Regions from separate parts of the Homo sapiens genome. Here regions 1, 2 and 4 are each linked to region 3. The links are contacts of gene promoters, found by promoter capture Hi-C in blood cells and fetal thymus (Javierre and others, 2016). All regions are on one chromosome and are shown on one strand. The core of a region is centred on a gene start or on the middle of the fragment in contact, and the rest is flanking DNA. Distances in the headings are between cores, read along the strand shown.

Region 1 (2,860 bases), core at 112-2,611, 640 kb after region 3:
TGACACAAATCAGAACTATGGCTGTCTCTGCTTTGAAACTGACTGGAAAGGACACCAGCAAACTCCGGTGGTGCTGGTGTTGTAAACCAAAAATAAAATCCTAAGCACACCCAGACCATCTTGAATGGACCCCTCCTCTTGGCCAGGGCATTCCTAACCTGAAAAACTAGTAAAGCCATGATGGAAAGGCGGGGGTGGGCGGGTCGGACATGCTTCATTATACCCTCCTCCATTTTGGAATTACTGATAGAAAAGACCCCAAGTCTGAAAAGAAACATTTACAATCTATTCTCTGTGAAGCGTGCTACCTGGAGACATTCCTAAGTCTTACGTCAATAACTCTTTCAACCCATTGCCAATCAAATAATCTTTGAATCTACCTATGACCTGGAAGGCCAGCCACCTTCCAGCTGTCCCGCCTTTCCGGAGGGAATCAATGTACATTTTACATGTATTTGATTGGTGTCTCATGTTTCCCTAAAAGGTATAAAACCACATATATCCCGTCCACCCTGGGCACAGGTTCTCAAGATCTCCTGAGGGCTGGGCCACCGGCCATTGGTCACTCATATTTAGCTCAGAATAAGTCTCTTCAAATACTTTAGAGTCTGAGTCTTTTCGTCAACAGTGTAAAACACGCCCTAAGGCAGACACACACACACTGAACCGCCGCTACCTGCCAGATTCCATCTGGGGCCTTTCTCATGGTGCAAAACGGACAAAAACTCCAAGTCACCCTCAGGTTTACGACCACGGGTCACATCCTGAGGCCCCCACACTTAGAAGCCAGAGTGGAGCAAAACCTCGCCCGACTCAGGCTCCGAGTTCTCCCCTCGACCCTCCCCAGCCTAAAGGCTGTACCCGCTTCAGGCCTTCCCAGCCCGGCCCTCCAGTTCCTTCTTCGGCCTCCCTCAGCCTGGGGTCCGGGTTTCCTCCTCGGCTGAGCAGCCGGGTCCGCGACTCCCTTCACCCTCCCCGGCCCGGGCTTCCGGTTCTTTCCAGAGGTGAGGCAGGGGCCACCTAGAATTCCGCGGCCCCCCACCTCCCCCAAGACCACCCTCGCCCCAGCTTCCTGTTCCCCATTCTGTCCTCCCAACCTGGGTTCCCGATTACTGCCTCGACTTCACCTTGCCGTCAGGGACCACCAGCCGCCTCTTCCGCGCCTAGGGGACGCGCAGCGGCAGCCTCTGCTGATGGCAAGGGTCTGCGCACCCGGAAACTCCAGGGTCTGGGGCGTGGTGCGGCCCCTGCGGCCAGCGGGCTCCGCTTGAGCTTCAGGGCTCTTTCGTTGTTGGACTACGTTTCCCACAGGCCTCAGGGCCGCGGATGAACTTCGACCTTTGCTTCCTTTTCCGGTGTTGTGGTTATTGAGTTAAGCCTGGCGAGTCGAGGTGACCCGGGCCGGGCTGCGGGAGGAGCTCGCGGTGAGGTGGCCCCGCGCTGCCGGGCGAGGTCGGTCCACGTGGAGCCGGGAGCCTGAGGCCTCTGTACGCGGGAGCTGCGGACGATGGTGGTTAGTGCTATTGTTTACGACGTCATTGTGGTGTGTGTGTGTGAGAGACGGAGACCCTAGTGTGTGCCGTGGGTGCTGTTTGATCGGACTCAGGACGGTGAGTAGGGGCGGGGTCTATCGTGTGACCCTGGTCTACGGTGACGTGATCGTGTGACAGCACTGTTGTGACCAACTATAAGTGTGAACGGGGTAGAAGTGTTTTTTTGTTTTTTTTTGTTTGTTTGTTTGTTCGTTTTTTTCCGTGAGCCTGTAGGAGTTTGTTTTGGGTAAAGCGTCATTTTTCCGACTCTGTGATGTCTGTGATGGAATCTCTTCGTGAGGTCTTATACACACACACACACGCATATAGATAGATTACATAGATGATATATAGAAGATAGATAAATGATAGATAATAGATAGATAGATAGATAGATAGATAAGATAGATAAATGAAGTTTCCTGGGAAGACGTGAAGGGGAGGGCATAGGTGTAGTATTCATTCCTGGGATAACTCCCCTTGCATGAGTTTGGAGGCCATTTATACATTAAAGAACTACAGTATTTCCTGAGCTGTGTTCCCTAGAAACTGCTAGGCATTGGTCGTACCTTTTTCTCGGATGTGGGGAGGAGTCGACAGTATTCTAGTTTCCCTCTTCGATCTGGGTGTGTTTGTTGTGTGTGATGGGCTTTTCTGGTGGTGAACACTGTGTTCTTATTTAACCAGTCCAGGATGTCATGAGTCCTTTCTCCCTCTTGGTTATGTAGTTCTGCAAGTGAAGGCCCCCTGAAGTGGAAGACAGCATTGGTACTAATGGCCAACTCAAGGTTAGTTTTTTTTTTTGTTCATTTACCTGGTCCCTTGGTTTTCTCTTCCCAATTAACAACAGGACCGTAGAGATGGGTCCCCTTGTCCTCCATTGCCTTTCCAAATGCCCATTTCCCTTTCATTGAATATTCACATATGCATTAGGTAAATCATTCAATTCTCCCATGTGCTTCTTTTTTTCCAAAGGATTTTTATGGTATAGAAATACAACTCCTGGAGGAGAAGTTAAAACTTTTTTTTAGAATGTAATTTGTTAAGGAGGAGACGAGTGATTAAGTAGAATGGCACACTAGATACCTTTGATCTTATTTACAGACTTGATTTGCAAACAAAGCAAGATAGGAGATGGTAGGTATTAATCAGTAAGTGACAAAGTTGGCTTTGGAGACATTTAGGAGTGGGAATATGATAGGAGTTTTATGCAGAGAGGCTATGTCAACAAGGGCAGGGAGTTTTTCCAGAACATTCATGAGGGGATTTAAGTGGTGACAACCAAATCTTCTTTGAGATTTGGCAGTGTGACATTGGTGTAGATTGTG
Region 2 (3,019 bases), core at 476-2,975, 840 kb after region 3:
AATATGGAGGAGCTATTTTAATAATTCTTTTTATTGTTTTTTTAATGGAGTGTTGATTTCCTTACATAAATTTAATTGTAAACATGTACATAGGACCGTGATTTTGAATTAAAAAAATACTTTGGGCCTTCGGCCTTCTTAGTAGTTTTTTTTGTTTTGTTTTGTTTTCGTTTTTGTTTTGATACGGCGTCTTGCTCTGTCGCCCAGGCTGGAGTGCAGCTGCACGATCTTGGCTCACTGCAACCTCCGTCTCCCTGGTTCAAGCGATTCTTCTGCCTCAGCCTCCCGAGTAGCTGGGACTACAGGTGTGCGTCACCATGCCCAGCTAAATTTTTTTGTATTTTTAGTAGAGACGGGGTTTCACCATGTTGGCCAGGCTGGTCTCAAACCCCTGACCTCAGGTGATCCACCCGCCTCGGCCCCCCGAAAGTGATGGGATTATAGGCGTCAGCCACCGCGTCTGGCCACCTTCTTAGTAGTTATAAAGTAGCTCAGATTTTTCATTTATCTCCTATTTCATGCATATCCTATTGTTTGCAAAATGAAACCAGATTGCCGAGGCATTTTCAAATATCTTCTAAAGTTTTATATTCTTAAGGAAAGAACAAATTCTTTCATGTATTAACTAATATATCAAAGAATTTGGGATACAGAAGATGCCTCAGGGTGGTCCCTGGTGGGCTTATCCCATTTCTTTCCTGAAGGAACGCAGGACAGGACAAATTCAGTCTCATTGGAGACAGACCTCTCCAGTTAGTCTTTTTCTTTTGAAACGGAGTTTCGCTCTTGTTGCCCAAGCTGGGGTGCAATGGCGGATCTCAGCTCAATGCAACCTCCGCTTCCCGGGTTCAAGCGATTTTCCTGCCTCAGCCTCCTGAGTAGCTGGGATTACAGGCGCGCGCGACCACGCCCGGCTAATTTTTTGTATTTTTAGTAGAACAATACATTCACAACTGCAGGAGATACGAGACACACACACACACACACACACACACACACACACACACACACACAGAGACAGAGACAGAGTGGGAGAAAGGGAGAGGGCAGTGAGCACGAGCGACCTTTCTAGGTTTACGTCCTGCTCCAGGTTCTGGTGGGCTTTGAGAGTATTTTCATTGCATGCCTGATGTGTGCCCACACCTTGCTTGGGTGTATGCAGTGAGTAACTGGTAGGTGTTTAGTACACATATTAGGCATCTGCTGGTGCCAAAACTTCTTTCTAAATCCTCCGCGGCTGAGCCTGGTGGCTCACGCCTGTAGTCCCAGCACTTTGGGAGGCTCAGGCGGGAGGATCTTTTAAGCCCAGGAGTTCGACACCGGCTTGGGTAACATAGGGAGATCTGGTCTCTATAAAAACTTAAAAAATGAGTTGGGCGTGGTGGCGCGCGCCTGCAGTCCCAGCTACTCTGGAGGCTCGGGTGGGAGGGTCGCTTGAGCCCGGGAGGTCGCGGCTGCAGTGAGCTCTAATCACGCCACTGCACTCCAGCCTGGGCGACAGAGTAAGACCCTGTCTCAAGAAAATAAACAAATAAAAGTCTTCCTCAGCGACAAAAGCAAACGCAAGCCCGAGCTCGCCTCAGCCCCACGCAGCGCGGAGGGCCTTCCCGCCCCGAGCGCACCCGGGGCTCCGGCCCCCGCGCATGCGCACTCCGCGCAGCCCGTTGGGGCTGGAACCAGTCCCTCCCATCGGCGGACTACATTTCCCACAGGCCTCCGCTCGCAGTTCTTTCCGGCTTCGCTGCTGGTGTCGGCTCCGAGAGGTGAGTTGGTCGCTTGCACCGAGGCAATGGGCGCGGGGGTGGCGCGGGGGCGGCGCAGACCTCAGTGTGAGCCAGGAGGCAGTAGCTGTGGAGTTTGTGGCGCTGACTGGGCGCCGGGTGCCCTGTTGCGTCCTCTGCCTTCTCGCTTCAGAGCCGCCCAGGTCCAGCGGCCCGGAATGGCTCCGAGTTAGATACAGGAACCCCGGAGTGAATGAAGGCCCCCAAACAAAAAGACGCAGTCTGAAGAACTGCAGATTGCACAGCTTTACCCGAGCTCCCTCCCATGGAAACTGCGGGGAACTCGGAGACAGATCCCAGCCCCGTCTTCGTGTACCTGGCCTTTCGCTCTGATACGGGAAAGGGTCAGCTTTATTCCAGGCTCCCTGTTATTTCCATCGGGTTTTGCGCGCAGTAGACGGAGGGAGCAAGTGCGCTAGCGGGGGTGTGTCCTGCTCAGCCAAGGCCGGCTCCAGGAAAGGCCCGCGGTCTCAAGATTCCCGTCTCCTTTCCCAATCCTGCTGTTCTTTAGGAAGGCAGCGGGGAGAGGAGGAAATGATTGCTGTTGCATATAGACAAGTCAACATCCAGATGAGTTTGTGTTTCCGTTTTGTTCCATGAAGTGTAATTTTTATTTTTTCTGGGCGTGGGGGCATTTGCTTTCCTCTTCTGTGGAATGAAAATCAGCTCGGACTGAACAATGAAGCAGCTCTGTCATTAATCAGGCTAGGAAGGAAGAGACAGATAAAGCCAGTTGCAAAATTAATAGAAAACATGATTTCTCCCCAGGTGGTGCAGTAGTTGTAAAATGGCATAATGACTCCCTCTTTGAGAGATTACAGTTTTCTTACCAGTGATGTTCTAGACTTGCTTTGCTGTTTTCATTTTATTACTGGGGATACCCTCTTGATTACACTCATGATTGCATTCAATATCTCATTAATCCCTGCCTCTCCTAATCTCACCTCGGAAACAGCAGCCATTCCAGATTGCAGCTGTCATTAGATCCTCCTTAGAATCTTTCAGCTGGAACTCAACCGTTTACGAAAGAGCTTTTCTCGTCTCTCTCGTCCATTCTATTCCAACCCTTCCTGTGGAATTTTCTCCCTTTCTGCCAGTCAATAGATATGATTTTGTCAGACTATGCGGGCTTGTTCCAGTTAATCTTCAGCTAGTTAGACTTTAACCCCTGAAATGTCCTGTCCACTGACCTGGTGCTTTGGCCTTCCTTCCCAGTGAATGATGGGGTGATGAAGGTA
Region 3 (3,190 bases), core at 1-2,500:
GACCAACACGGAGAAACCCCGTCTCTACTGAAAATACAAAATTAGCAGGGCGTGGTGACACACGCCTGTAATCCCAGCTACTAGGAAGGCTGAGGCAGGAGAATTGCTTGAACCGGGGAGGCGGAGGTTGCGGTGAGCCGAGATTGCGCCATTGCACTCCAGCCTGGGCAACAACAGCGAAACTCCGCCTTAAAACAAAACAAAACAAAAACAGAGAAGTGTAGGCTGTCATGAGCATTCTTGGTATCAGAGGGGTGAGGTCTCTCCTCTCGAGAATCTGTCCTGACCTCACAGGGAGAGCTGGAGTCACAAAGACAGTCACAAGCACCCCCTACCCAATGCTGCAGTCACCCAGCCACCATGGGGACCCACATAGACCTCCACAGGCACGCCTCACCCAAACAATAACACTATATATGGTCACACAATCATTGTCCCACATCTACCTTGAGGATAAGTTACACTAGCATATTTACAGACCCCTCAAACATAGCACCATTCAGAACCAGAGTGCTACAGATAGTCACAATACCACACGCACTACTGAGCCACACAAAGTTACAGTTCCCCCCTCCCCAGGACCCCTATTGAGCACTACACACAATCACACATTCAAAATAACACAATGACCACTAGGACACACATATCACCCCGGCACGATTACACGCACTTTCCAACCGCAGACACAGTGCTACATAAAGTTACATGGTCACACTCTCACATTCTCACGTTACTGGGTTATTTCTGGGTAGTAGATTTACTCAGTAAGGCATCCAGTACACTTAAGTGCTGCTAACAGTCATACAAACACAATTACACACACCCCTCAGACTAACACACAGTCACAGCCTCATCAGATTCTCTCCACACAAACACCCTCCACAAATGTCACGCAAAGTTACACAGCCACACACAATCACAGTCCCAACACGGGACACAGTCATACCTACACATACAGCCTTACATTGTTACAATTACACAACTACAACGAGGATATACAATCACACCCGCGCACACAGAGAGGCACAGTCACATAAGGTCACACTCACACACGGAAGCCCACGCCTCGCGCCCGCCTCCCCACCACCCCCTCTATCAGCCCGACCAACTCATACATGCCCGACACACTCATACATGCCCAACACTCCAGACCAGCCTGGTCAGTCCCTTCAAACTCCCATGCACGTACCTGCGGGCCCCAGCCGAGCCTGCAAGACCCAGGCCGCTCACCGCGCACTTCCCCTACCCTTGAGGCGGAGGGTCCAGCAGGCAAATGAAGGGGCTGCCCTGGACTCGCGGGGGCCTCTGGGAAATACAGTCCGGAGTAGGACCGCGCCGAGAAGATGGCGCCTGTTTTTTCGGGTTCTTGCAGCTGCACAGCTCGGGGACATCCCTGCTCCGCACTCCGAACCGCTACCCCGCGTCTCCGTGATCCAGACACAGGCTCAGAGTGAAACTGCCGTAGGACGCTGGCCCTGCACGCTGAAGACAATCTTCCTCCATGGTACCGGCCAACCCCAGGGAGTTCCCTGAGAAACAGGAAAAGGTCGCCAGCTTCGGGCCAGATGTTGACTAGAGCCGCAAGGATTTTTGGGAACTGTAGTCTAGAGCAGGAAGGGGTGAGGCGCTGGGGCAAGTGGAAGGAGGTCGCTTAAATGACTTCCTGCCCCAAGCCGACTCAGTGCAGAACGCACCCAGGACCCCGGACTGTACTAGGCGTTATAACGCTCTCTGAGAATGCTAGACTGACTAAATCGTCATTTTTGCCTTCATCCGTGGATAAGCCACATACTGTATGACTGCATTTATAGGAAATATTTAAAATAGTCAAATCTACGGAAAAGGAGTAAGTTAGAGTTTTTTAGGACTAGCAGGATTAGGGGGAACTGTGAGTGATTGGTAATAGCTAAAGGGTTCATTTTTGGGGTAATGCAAAGCTTCTTGAATTAGATAATGATGTTTGCACAACTCTGAATACACTAAAAGTGACTGAATGGTACACCATAAACGAGCTAATGTTATAGTTTGTAAATTATATTTGTGTGCATGTTTTTTAAAAATCAACTTTACTGAAGAATAATTTAGATACAATAAAATGCACTCATTTTAAGTGAACTGTTCGGTAAGCTTCAACGCATGTCTAAACCCTTGTCACCACCATCGTAATCAGGATATAGAATATTTTTTAAAATTAAAAAATTTTTAAGCATTTTAGTTAAATTTTTGTGGGTACATAGTAGTTGTATATGGGGTACATGAGATGTTTTGATACAGGCATGCAATGCGTAAGAATCATATCATGTAAAATAGGGTGTCTATCCCCTCAAGCATTTATCCTTAGTGTTACTGGATATAGAATTTTTTTTTTTTTTTTTTTGAGTTGGAGTCTAGCTGTCACCCAGGCTGGACTGCAGTGGCGAGATCTCGGCTCACTGCAAGTTCCGCCTCCCGGGTTCAAGCGATTCTCCTGCCTCAGCCTTCCGAGTAGCTGGTATTACAGGTGCCCGCCACCATGCCTGGCTAATTTTTGTATTTTTAGTAGAGACAGGGTTCGAGCTCACAGGCTGGTCTCGAACTCCCGACCTCGAACTTCTGACTTCGTGATCCGCTCGCCTCGGCCTCCCAAAGTGCTGAGATTACAAGCGTGAGCCACCGCGCCCGGCGGATATAGAATATTTTTATTCACCGCCCTCTGCCCCCCACATTGTTAAGTCAATCCCCACCTCCCAAACCCCACATCAGGCATCTATTGACTATTCTAAGGAATGAGCAGTAGTATCAAATTATGTTTTTAATTTGCATTTCCTGATGTCAATGAACTTAGCATACTTTCATATACTTATTTGCCATTCTTTTATCTTCTTTTGTGACATCTATTGAAAATATTCGGCTGGGCGCAGTGGCTCACGCCTGTAATCCTAGCACTTTGGGAGGCTGAGGCGGGCAGATCACCTGAGGTTGGGAGTTCGAGACCACCCTGACCAACGTGGAGAAACACCGTCTCTACTAAAAATACGAAATTGGCCAGGCGTGGCGGTGCATGCCTGTAATCCCTGCAGGAGAATCACTTGAACCCGGGAGGCAGAGGTTGCTGTGAGCTGAGATCACACTGTTGCACTCCAGCTAGGGCAACAAGAGCAAAACTGCATCTCAAAAAATAATAATAAATAAATAAATAAATAAAATTTTC
Region 4 (3,041 bases), core at 240-2,739, 800 kb after region 3:
TGGTGATGCGCACCGGCTTGTCTCGGCAGCCGCGGCCCGCGGGCTCCAGGATCAGCGTTGCTGACATCTCGGAGCTGGAGCGGGGAATCTTAAGGTCGAGGCCCGAGGCCCGTCCAAGATCGTGGCAAGTGCGCCGATTGTCCAGAGGGCGTCCGGCGTCCCCTGGTGCCGGGAGCGGCCGGTGGCTGAGCAGTCCCAGAAAGCGCCTGGGACTTTAGACCAGTTAACCCGGCGCCCTGGACTCGTCTGAGGCAAAAGGAGCCAGACTCCTCTCCTGGGTCCTCTCCTTGGGCCCCGGGGAGCGCAGACTTTTTTTTTTTTTTTTTTCCTTTTTTTAATTTTGAGACAGGGTCTCGCTCTGTCGCCCAGCCCGGAGTGCAGTGGCCGATCCATAGCTCACTGTAATCTCGATCTCACAGGCTCAAGCTATCCTCCTGCCTTGGCCTTCCGAGTATGTGGGACTACAGGCATGAGTCATCACGCCTGGCCTAAGCCATCACGCCTGGCCTGATTTTTTTTTTTTACTTGGAAAAAAATATATACTTCACTCCCACAAAGTATTATTTTAGACTCCTGCCCCGTTATTCCTAGAGAATTAAAATTTCCAAGTAAAGTAAAAACAAAAAAGTAGTGAAGACAGAAGAGTATTTAACCATATCGCTGTAGAAAATTGTATTGAATATTCTAAGGCATGTGCTTGTCCTTTTTGTGTCTGTTGGTAGAAAAAGAATAAACATTAAACTCAGCTTAGTATTTCCAAAGTAGTAAGAAACACTTTTGCACATAAGGATACTTTGGGAAACCTTGTTTCCCCCACTGTCTTTACACTGAGTGAGTAACAAGGCTCTGTAAAGACGCAGGGGAATTGGTCACTAGCAGGCAAGGCAGACATCAAGCACTGTAAGAAATCAGAGACTGACTTCAAAGAAAACTCAGCGTTTACTGATAAATTGTGTTATATTACCCCATCAATGGCTAGCCTTCATGCCATGAAAATGCATCCATGTTAATGATGTCACTGTCTTACCTAACTGCAGGTGACAGCTGCCATGACATAGAAATGACATTGAACTTAAGGAAAACACTATACTGTTGCAAAATCCTTGTTAAAACCAAACATCTTAAATGCATTTGAAGCAGCGTGTCTAAGCCACGTAAAATCAAACCCTTGATAGTTATTAGCTGGCCTTCTTCTATAAAGAAAGCTTTCTTTTTTCTTTGTGCTTATTTAATGGGGTACAATCAATTATAGACATAATTGGTGGCACAGGGAAAATAATTATTTCAAGTAGTTTTTAAACACTAGCTGTATAACTAAGAGGGACATATAAAAACAGGGATTGGCAAACTTTTTCTTTAAAGGGCCTGATAGTAAATACAGTCAATCTTCATTCACAGATTCTGAATTTGTGAATTCATCTACTTGCTAAAACTTTTTTATAAACCCAGAGTCAATATTTGCAGCACCTTTGTGGTCATTTGTGGACATCCGAAGAGCGGTGAACCTTTTTGAGTCCCTTAACAGGCATGTTCTCAGCCAAAGTCAAACAAAGTGACCCTCTATCTTCTTATTTCAGCTCTCATACTGTAAACAGGTACCCTTTTTGCAGTCCATTTAGTACCTTGGCTTCTCATATTTTTGTTTTTTGCTGGTGATTTTGCTGTTTCAAAGGGACCCCAAATGTAGTAGTACTAAAGTGCTGTTGATGTTCCTATGAATGAGAAAGCGGTCATGTGTCTTACAGAAAAAATACATGTGTTAGATAAGCTTCATTCAGGCATGAGTTATGGAGCTGTTGGCCATGAGTTCAATGTTAATGAATCAATAATATATATTAAAGTGTTTAAATAGAAACACAATAAGGCCAGGCGCGGTGGCTCATGCCTATAATCCCAGCACTTTTGGGAGGCCAAGGCGGGTGGATCACCTGAGGTCAGGAGTTTGAGACCAGCCTGGTCAACATGGTGAAACTCCGTTTCTACAAAATACAAAAATCAGCTGGGCATGGTGACATGCATCTGTATTCCCAGCTACTCTGGGGGCTGAGGCAGGAGAATTGCTGGAACCCGGGAGGCGGAGGAGGTTGCAGTGAGCCAAGATCCCACCACTGCACTCCAGCCTGGGTGACAGAGCAAGACCCTATCTCAAAAAAAAAAAAAAAAAAGAAAAAAAGAAAATAAACACAATAAAATAAGCTTATGCATTCATCGGTTGACTAAAATGTGACCAGATGCTTACAGGAAACTAACCCTGTATTTCCCCTAGAAGCAGTGGAATGGTATTCACTAATTCCGTGTTTGTAGCAAGTTTATAGACCATAACTACTGTGAATAGTGAGAACTGACTGTATTTTAGGCTGCGTGGGCCATCTGGTCTGTGTAACTACTCGAGTCTGTCCTTGTAGCTCAAATATAGCAATAGACAGTACACAATCAAACACGGCTATGTTCCAATAAAACTTTTATTTATGGACACTGAAATTTGACATGTATGATTTTCATATTTCACAAAATATTGTTCTCCTTTTCATTGTTTTTACCATTTAAAAATACAGAAATGGAAAATATAGGAACTGGCTTCCCCGAATCTCCGGAGTCACACGGTCTCAAATCCCAACAGCCACACCCAGTGAAAGAATCCCACCCAGGAGCGCGCCAGGGACAGACTCGCAGCGCCGTCCTCGCTCACAGGGCTCCCTAGTTGGCACTATAGAGAGGCGGTCGCGGGCGCCCCTCTTTAACGCGCCAGCCATCTGTCCCCGCTCCCCTCCAGGCCCTGCCGCGCCGTCCCCAGGCGCTAAGGGACTCGAAGCGCAGCCTCGCTGGGACGGACCTAGCTCCGGCTCCGGGTTCACGCAGAGCAGGGGCTGCACCAGCGAGCGGACCCTTGAGACTGGCCGCGCCTGCGCACTCCGTGAGCGCGCCCGGCCCTCCCAGCAGCCTCCGCGCGCAGCCCGTTAGGCCCCGGGGATTGTGGCGTGACCCGGCAGCGGCTTCCTCCGTTCGGGCATCGCTGTGCCTCGGGTTCGCGCCCCGAGTGA

What was found. The method cuts DNA at HindIII sites, captures the fragments that hold promoters and counts their contacts. A CHiCAGO score of 5 or more calls a contact.
Region 1: the fragment with the promoter of ZNF529 here is called in contact with the fragment with the promoter of ZNF383 in region 3 in 1 of 17 cell types (fetal thymus); the score reaches 5.1 in fetal thymus.
Region 2: the fragment with the promoter of ZFP14 here is called in contact with the fragment with the promoter of ZNF383 in region 3 in 1 of 17 cell types (total B cells); the score reaches 6.3 in total B cells.
Region 4: a fragment that was not itself captured here is called in contact with the fragment with the promoter of ZNF383 in region 3 in 1 of 17 cell types (total B cells); the score reaches 5.8 in total B cells.

What each region holds. Positions count from the first base shown.
Region 1 is chr19:36,571,793-36,574,652 of GRCh38, reverse strand. It overlaps ZNF529 (zinc finger protein 529), which reads left to right and starts at 1,361. Exons shown (of 5, transcript NM_020951.5): 1 at 1,361-1,513; 2 at 2,261-2,320. The coding sequence starts at 2,307. ZNF529-AS1 (ZNF529 antisense RNA 1) reads right to left here and starts at 1,304. Exons shown (of 5, transcript NR_173348.1): 1 at 1,098-1,304. RefSeq lists an enhancer at 1,215-1,304. The HindIII fragment of the contact is 11,229 bases long and covers 1-2,860 here.
Region 2 is chr19:36,377,907-36,380,925 of GRCh38, reverse strand. It overlaps ZFP14 (ZFP14 zinc finger protein), which reads left to right and starts at 1,725. Exons shown (of 5, transcript NM_020917.3): 1 at 1,725-1,763. RefSeq lists a silencer at 1,529-1,618. The HindIII fragment of the contact is 12,200 bases long and covers 1-3,019 here.
Region 3 is chr19:37,216,274-37,219,463 of GRCh38, reverse strand. It overlaps ZNF383 (zinc finger protein 383), which reads right to left and starts at 1,250. Exons shown (of 6, transcript NM_001387601.1): 1 at 1,190-1,250. RefSeq lists an enhancer at 1,135-1,624. The HindIII fragment of the contact is 5,435 bases long and covers 1-1,939 here.
Region 4 is chr19:36,418,563-36,421,603 of GRCh38, reverse strand. ZFP82 (ZFP82 zinc finger protein) reads left to right here and starts at 2,960. Exons shown (of 5, transcript NM_133466.4): 1 at 2,960-3,041. It also overlaps the pseudogene ACOT4P1. The HindIII fragment of the contact is 563 bases long and covers 1,208-1,770 here.